2 separate regions of the Homo sapiens genome follow, and region 2 is linked to region 1. Evidence: promoter capture Hi-C in human tissues and cell types (Jung and others, 2019). All regions are on one chromosome and are shown on one strand. The core of a region is centred on a gene start or on the middle of the fragment in contact, and the rest is flanking DNA. Distances in the headings are between cores, read along the strand shown. Region 1 holds the start of APOA4 (apolipoprotein A4). Region 2 overlaps BUD13 (BUD13 spliceosome associated protein).

Region 1 (4,137 bases), core at 1-2,500:
CTAAGTTACGATGCTGAATTTCTATCTCAGGATCTCCCACATAGTTTGTCTCAGAATCTACCCACCATGTCACCTCCAGCAGTTTGCTTTCCCCTCCTTGTCTGCAGAGGGTGGGACTTTGAGGTCCTTCCCAGAGGGAGTGTTCTGGGCCATAGGATCACATTGTGTAACACAATGTTGTCTTCTTGACCTCTGCTGGGGTCTTCCAGTGGCACAAGGTGCTGCTTTCCTTGCCTGTGCCCAGGGGCCTCCCAAATATTCCCACCTCCCTCCCCTTGATTCCACTGGGGCCTGTCTTTCTGAAACGTATTAGAAATCAGCTCACGTGACATTTTCCTCCCTCCCTCTCTTCCATGAGCCTGAATGATAGGATGTGGCCATTTGTCAAACTCTAGAACGTCAAAGCAAAAGGACATGGCAGGGATTATTCGGTCCAAACTTCCGGTTTACATATGTGGATCCTAGGTTCAGAGGCCCGGCCAGTTAGTGGCAGGGCAGTGGGTATCCTAAGCTCAGGGCTCCTGTCTCTAAGCTCAACCCTTGCCAGTACATTGCATGGCCTTTAAGAATTCCCCGTCACCACCGCACACTGTAGTCCCTCTTACTTGAGTTGCTGGGTGAGTTCAGATTTCTGGAGATGTTCCACGGCCTCCTTGGCATTGTTGCTCAGCTGGCTGAAGTAGTCCCACATCACCGTGGCCACCTGGTCAGCACTGACCTCAGCCCTGGCTCCTGGGTGGTAACAGAGAGCAATTCATGAGGCCCCGTCTCCTGTGTGGCCCCTCTGCTCCAGCTCTGAGCTGCAGACTGGATGATGGTGGGGGTGCCTCAACCTGCCATTTTCCCTGTCTGAGCTTAGCTTTTTGGAAGCCACAGGGATATGTGAAACTGGTATAGCACCAATGCCAATGGGCCCACCACTGGGACTGGGCCAGCTCTCCTGTGAGCCACTTGGCAGCCAGGCAGACCTCATGTCCAGCTGGGGGCTGATGGGCACTCAGAAGTGTCCTTTTGCTTTGGCTCAGCCTCCATCCTGCACTACTCAGAGCAGCAGCCCAGGAGTGCCATCCAAAGACAGCTTCTACTCACCGGCGACAGCCACCAGGGCCAGGGTCAGGACCACGGCCTTCAGGAACATCCTGAGCTGCTTGCTGGGCTGGAGGAGTTTCTTGCCACACTGGATCCTCCCTACAATCAGGGGAGCTGACAGAGAGGTCCTCAGGAGAGCTCACCTGCGCTGCAGTGGGAACTGACTGAAGCTCAGAGCCAGCCAGACATTTAAACTCTCTCCCTATCGCCACCCCCCTGGCTGCCCTCCCCTCCTCCTTCCTCAGTGTGACTCCACGCTGGAAGGTGACACATTCCCAAGAGGCCTCTTGGACTTTTGTGACCCTGAGACTACGTGGAAGCTGACAGCAGATCAGGGCTCAGGCGATAGTTAGAAGTGGTGGCTGTTCCGTGCGTGGGCACCCCCACCCCCACCCCACCAACCTCAGCATGGAAGGGAGGAGGGGAACGGAAAACAGTAGGAGAAACACCTCAGGGAGCCCATGAGCCCGGGACTGATGCCTCGAGGCCCTGCTGGCGGCTCTGGGTTTGTGCCGGGCTCATGGGGGGCAAAGTCCACATCTCCTCTGTCTACCCCAGTGAAGACAGGTCCCCCCAGTCTCCACATCCGCCACTAATGCTGACTCCATCTCAGAGCACCAGACACTGGAGTGGGACCATCCAGGACTGCAGACAGCATAGTGAGCTAAAATCTAGGTCTCTTGTCAAGGTACACCCAAGAGGAGGGGGCCCTGGAGAGCCTTTGGGCAGATGGGTGTGGGAGACAGGGCCTTGTCCTGAAAGGGTTAATTGTAGAGTGCTTCATGTCCCACTCCCATGCTGTGCCTCCTTGGTCTAGTTATTCAAAGCCCTGAGCTTCAGTTTCTCCTCTGAACAATGGGATGGTTCAGTACATTAAAGAAGACATTGCTTGCGAAGTGGGTAGTACGGTCATCTCTCAGTCTCCATGGGAAATTGATTCCAGGACCCTCTGCAGATACCAAAATCCATGGATGTTCAAGTCCTTGATATAAAATGGCATAGTATTTGCATATAACCTAAGCACAGCCTCCCACATACTTTAAATCTCTAGATTACTTATAATACCTAATACGACGGAAATGCTGTGTGAATGGTTGTTATACTGTATTGTTTAGGAGGTAATCACCAAAAAAGTCTGTATATGTTTAGTACAGGTGCAATTTTTTTTTTTTTTGAGATGGAGTCTTACTCTGTCACCCAGGCTGGAGTGCAGTGGCACGATCTTAGCTCACTGCAATCTCTGCCCCCCAGGTTCAAGTGATTCTCCTGCCTCAGCCTCCTGAGTAGCTGGGATTACAGGCACCCACCACCACGCCCAGCTAATTTGTGTATTTACAGCAGAGACGGGGTTTCACCATGTTGCTCAGGCTGGTCTCCAACTCCTGGCCTCAAGCAATCCTCCCATGTGGGCCTCCCAAAGTGCTGGGCTTATAGGCGTGAGCCACTGCGCCCTGCCCAGATGCAATTTTTTTAAAACATTGTTTTTAATGGAGATGGGGTGTCGCTATGTTGCTCAGGCTGGTCTCCAACTCCTGGCCTTAAGTGATCCTCCAATCTCTGCCTCCTAAAATGCTGGGCTTACAGGCATGAGCCACTGCACCCGGCCCACAGATGCAATTTAAAAAAAAAAATATATATATATATATATATATATTTTTTTTTTTTTTTTTTTTTTTGAGATGGAGTCTTGCTCTGTCACCCAGGCTGGAGTGCAGTGGCACGATCTCGGCTCACTGCAAGCTCTGCCTCCCGGGTTCACGCCATTCTCCTGCCTCAGCCTCCCAAGTAGCTGGGACCATAGGCGCCCGCCACCACGCCCGGCTAATTTTTTTTTTTTTTTTTGTATTTTTAGTAGAGATGGGGTTTCGCCGTGTTAGCCAGGATGGTCTCGATCTCCTGACCTCGTGATCCGCCCGCCTCAACCTCCCAAAGTGCTGAGATTACAGGCGTGAGCCACCACGCCCGGCCTAAAAAATTATTTTCAATCCAAGGTTGGTTGAATCCATGGACACAGAAACCAAGGATACAGAGGGCTGCCTATAGAGCTCCTGGCACAGAGTAAGCTCTGAAAAATAGTTGCTGTTATTATAATAATCATACTGTATAATAATCATACTGTGTTCCTGATTTGGAGCAAAGCAGGGAGGGTAGCAGAGTGCTCCCTCCTCTAGTGAGAGTGGCAGAGTGAGACTCAGCCCTCTGAGGGGCGCCAGGTGGGCCAGAGGCAGGGTGATGGGTGGGACCAGCCTGAGGCCTGACTCCTGCCCTTCTTGCCCCCCAGCCACACTCCCTGGGCAGGAGCAGCTGGCTTGAGCAGAATCTTGGGACCTGAGGCTCTCAGGGGACCTCCCATTGGGGGATGGAGGGCAATGGTGGTGGTGCCCAGGAGGTCTTCTACTTAGATGTCTATTGGATCTCTAAATGAGGCTGCATGCATAATCACACACAAACATCCACTGAGAAGGTGACACACCACGTCAGCATGGGTCCCTCTGCCGGACCACACCACTCCTAGTGACTATGAGGTGACATCCAGGCACGTTGCACTATTGGCTCCTGTCGGTGAGTGCAGTGCCTGACAACAGTGAGCTACATTTATTTGTAAAAATGAACGCCATCAGAGTAGACCACAATTGTACTAACTCTAATTTGCTTTGTGTTCATTTTTTCAGTTTCCAGAAGTGGCTTAATGTTTCCTAGGGTCAAAGGCAGTCAAATGACCTCCTGACTCTGGCACCCCTTCTGCTGGGTCCCCACTGCCCTGTAGTGGTCCCCACGCTACCATGCTGCCTCCTTTTTGATGCAGCCTGTGCCATCTCTCCGTGATTGTTGGGGTCAGATGCTGGAGTCCACTCCCTGGCTTGGCATCCAGGCTCCAACACGTACTGCCTGTGTGTCCTTGGGCAAGTCTCATAACCTCTCTGAGCCTCAGTTACCTTGGTGAGACATAACCATTGTACCTGCCTCCTAGGCTGTGAGGATTCACTGAGATGATCTTATAGTGCTTGCAACAATGTCTGGCACATAGGAAAAGTGATCACTAAATGT
Region 2 (4,137 bases), core at 1,042-3,541, 57 kb before region 1:
TGAATACTTGTTAAATGGATGAATTAAACCAAGTCAACTCCTTTACTTTGGGGAACAGCCCTATCTGATTGGAATCCACTCCACAGAGAAAAGTATGATGTCTGTGGGGGGCCTAACAGTAAATCTGAAGGAAGCAAGGGTCAGAGATTGGTAAGCGTACTTCCAATAACAAATTGGGATGGGGGAGTGAAAGCAAGGCAGAAGAAAAGGAGTGAGTGAGTGTGAGTGTGACTGTGTGTGTGTGTGACTGACCTTCTAAACATTCAGATACACAAGAAAAGGCACCGTGTGTATGTGTGTGTCTGTGTGTCTTCCTAGACAAACAGACATGGAGACCAAAAGATTCTCTTTGGAAAAGAATTCTGATTAGGCTACAAAAATCAAATACCTACTAGCAATTAAACAATTCTACAAATATTTATTAAAGGTAGCTCCTTGTGCTAGATAGGGGAATATCATGGCAAATAAGACTAGTCTATGCTCAAACAGATGTGACAAACAAATGCTTTTTATCCAATTCTCAAGGACTCAAATTTTTTTAAAGAGAGTTAAATTAAGATTATTAGCTTAGGAAGAGTCCAAAGTGGGCAAGTGGAGGGTAATGCACTATAAAACACCAATACTTAAGGAAAGAAGAGAGAAATTTACTAACACAAACAGAACAAAATACACTGGTCCTTGACCCCCCAGAAATGAGTTGCTTCATTGTGGAAGAGGATAGTGGTAGCTAAAGTCCCCAAATTCTGCTCCTGTTTCTTGTAAACTCCTCCCAAAGTCTTGCCTATACACCAAGTGCTCTCCTATTCTGAGTCAAAGAGGAATGGGTGCTCAAAGGCCTCCAAATTAGTCACCAACCTCAGTAATCCTAATGCCAAAATATAAGAGAAAGAGGAATATCTGGTCTATAAGTTCCTATGTCTTACTACCTCTGAAGAAGTCCAACTTCCTTTTTCCTGCTTTATTTTTCAGGATCAATGACATGCTAAAACAAACTATGCATTCCTCTAAAGAAAAGTATAGAAAAGGAAAAAAGATCTCCCCTACTAATGGAAATTTAGATTTATCTATTGTTGGAACTCACCTCCCAGAAGCTTCCATTTGGCACTGGAACGAAAGGCCTCCATCTGCTTTACCTCTTCTGGCCGCTCATCCACAAACTCTGCCACCTGTGAGAGTAAAGATTTCCTATCTTAGGAAATCCACAGGATCCAGCCAAGAAGCACTGTCTCAAGAACCTGAAGTTACAACCATTCCGATTCCTAACACAAGGGCGTACATATATCCAAAATGGTCATGAAGAAGTAAGTAGGGGTCTTCAGTTATGTTTGCTCCATAAACATCTGATTGTCACTGTATTGGTTTAATTGTAGATCCTTCTCTAATTAATCAATTACCCTGCAAAGGTTAATTTTTTTCATTACAAACCTTTTTATTAACCTGCTAGGTACACAACAGCCACTTGTAAACTAACAACTAAATTCCTTTTACACTTTTACTTCTACATTAACAGTGGAAACATAGGTGGCTCCCCCCATCATGCCTAGCACTAATCAAGGACTTTGGGTTTCTATGAATCCTTTCTTGTTGTAGGTAGTCACAGTGATAGGTTTTCTTGAATACAACCAAAAAGAGCCACTGAGATGTACACAGAATCATTAATCTTTAAGAGCTAAAACCACATTTCATATCTTCTAAACTTCTGAACAAATCAGAATCTTCTCTATAGTATTCCTAATAAGTGGTCACTCGCCCAATCCCTTCCTGACAAGGAACTCATTATCTTACAACACAGTCCACTGCATTTTTCAAAAATGTTAGAAAGTTCTTAGTTTTACTAGTACCGTATCTGCCTTCCTATAACTTCTTTGAATTCATTCTAGTTCTGACCTGTGATGTAAGTCCACATGACAAACTTTCAAGATTGCTGGCATAATAAATCCTAGTTACAGAGTAGCAACTATGTGCAAGGTACTGTGTTTTGTGGTTTACTCATATAATCTAACTCGATTCTCACAATAATCCTGTAAAGAAAGGCTCCACACTACTGAATAGCAAACTGATTCGGAGAAGTTCAGTAACTTTCTCAATGTCACAAGCTAACAAGTGGCAGAACTGGAATTTAAATCCAGGTCATAATAGCCCTCTACTTCTCCCAAAATCCTACCATCATTCTTCATATAACCCAGTTTTGAGATCTCTCACTGAGCGTTAAAAGCACAGGTTTCGGGCAAGATGAATTAAGATCTAAACCCCAGCTCGGCCACTTAGCATTTGTGTAACCTTTGGTAAATTATTCTAAGCCTCAATTTCCTCATTTGTAAAAGTGGGATTCAAAGGATTGCTATAAGGATTGAATGAGATAATTCACGTAAGCTTAGCCATGCTTGGTACATGATAAATGCCCAATAAATGACACCTATTAATTATTCCTGTGCTGCCACTGCTATCGTAATCATCATAATCGTTTTACCATTATTACTGGTGGTGGTGGTGATCTTGCAGTTACAAAAATGAATTCAGTAATCAAGATCTGTTTTAACCAATGCAGAGAGCAGTGGCACTAAAGCCTCCTTTGTTTAGGTTTTTGGGCCATCATAAAAGCAAGACAATATTATAAAAGAAAATGGCCAGGTGCGGTGGCTCATTCCTGTAATCCTAGCACTTTGGGAGGCTGAGGCGGGTGGATTGCTTGAGCCCAGGAGTTCATGACCAGCCTAGGCAACACGGTGAAACCCCGTCTCTACCAAAAACACAAAAATTAGCTGGGCATGGTGGCAGGCGCCTGTAATCCCAGCTATTTGGGAGGCTGAGGCAGGAGGTTCACTTGAACCTGGGAGGCAGAGGCTGCAGTGAGCCAAGATTGAGCCACTGCACTCCAGCGTTGGTGACAGTGTGAGAATATGTCTCAAAAAAAAAAAATAATAAAAACAATTATGAACTAAGTGAAAAGGCAAATGATAAAATACACCCACAACATAAGCCTAATGAACATATAAAAAATGATTCATTTCACTAGTGTTCAAAGAAACTGGGCCAGGCACGGTGGCTCACGTCTGTAATCCCAGCACTTTGGGAGGCCGAGGCAGGCAGATCATGAAGTTAGGAGATCAAGATCATCCTGGCTAACACAGTGAAACTTCATCTCTACTAAAAATACAAAAAATTAGCCAGGCATGGTGGCAGGTGCCTGTAGTCCCAGCTACTCGGGAGGCTGAGGCAGGAGAATGGCGTGAACCCGGGAGGCGGAGCTTGCAGTGATCCGAGATCACGCCACTGCACTCCAGCCTGGGCAACAGAGTGAGACTCCACCAAAAAAAAAAAAAAAAAAAAAAGAAACTGGATACCATTACTCACTTGCTAAATCAGCATAGGTTTGCTATTGGTTTTGTTTTGTTAATAATCCTTCAATATTGGTGGGGCATGTGGCTAACACCTGTAATCCCAACACTTTAGGAGGCCTAGGCAGGAGGATCACTTGAGCCCAGGAGGTCAAGACCAGACTGGGCAACACAGAGACCTCATCTCTACAAAAAATACCCAAAATTAGCCAGGCATGGAGGTGCGCACCTGTGGTACCAGCTACGTGCAGGACTAAGGTAGGAGGATTGCTTGCACCTGGAAGGTAGAGGCTACAATGGGGCATGATCACACCACTGTATTTCAGCCTGGGCAACAGAGCAAGACCCTGTCTCAAAAATAATAATAATAATAATAATAATAATAATAATAATAATAATAGTGCTCTAATATTGACGACGTAGGCAAACTGGCATTCTCATCACCTCTAGTGGGAGTGTAAATTGGTAGCACCTTTTGGAAAGCAACATGGGAATATAACTAAAGCGAACCATACCCTTTGATCCACTCATTTCATTTTATGGGAATAAAGAAATAAACTGATTTCTACAAATGATTTATGTACAACGATGTATGATATTTTATAAGTGGAAACAATCCATGTATCCAGTAACAGAACAGATAAAATATATATATTGAACTACTACATAACCGTTAAAAATCATACACTCAAAGAATATTTTAAGGTCTTACCAGAGTATCCACAACATATTATTTAGCAGAGGAGTAGACTCCAAAACCCTATGTACAATATGATCCCAATTATGTTCAAAAAAATAA

What was found. Contacts are between HindIII fragments. The study calls those that stand out against the background at their distance.
Region 2: a fragment that was not itself captured here is called in contact with the fragment with the promoter of APOA4 in region 1 in 2 of the 25 tissues and cell types used here (dorsolateral prefrontal cortex and stomach).

The regions. Positions count from the first base shown.
Region 1 is chr11:116,822,054-116,826,190 of GRCh38, forward strand. It overlaps APOA4 (apolipoprotein A4), which reads right to left and starts at 1,251. Exons shown (of 3, transcript NM_000482.4): 1 at 1,090-1,251; 2 at 606-732. The coding sequence starts at 1,138. RefSeq lists enhancers at 3,239-3,605, 3,460-3,754. The HindIII fragment of the contact is 11,668 bases long and covers 1-4,137 here.
Region 2 is chr11:116,764,281-116,768,417 of GRCh38, forward strand. It overlaps BUD13 (BUD13 spliceosome associated protein), which reads right to left. Exons shown (of 10, transcript NM_032725.4): 3 at 1,082-1,166. Among named protein-coding and RNA genes, the nearest start is that of BUD13, 6.6 kb to the right of the region's middle. The HindIII fragment of the contact is 6,710 bases long and covers 1-4,137 here.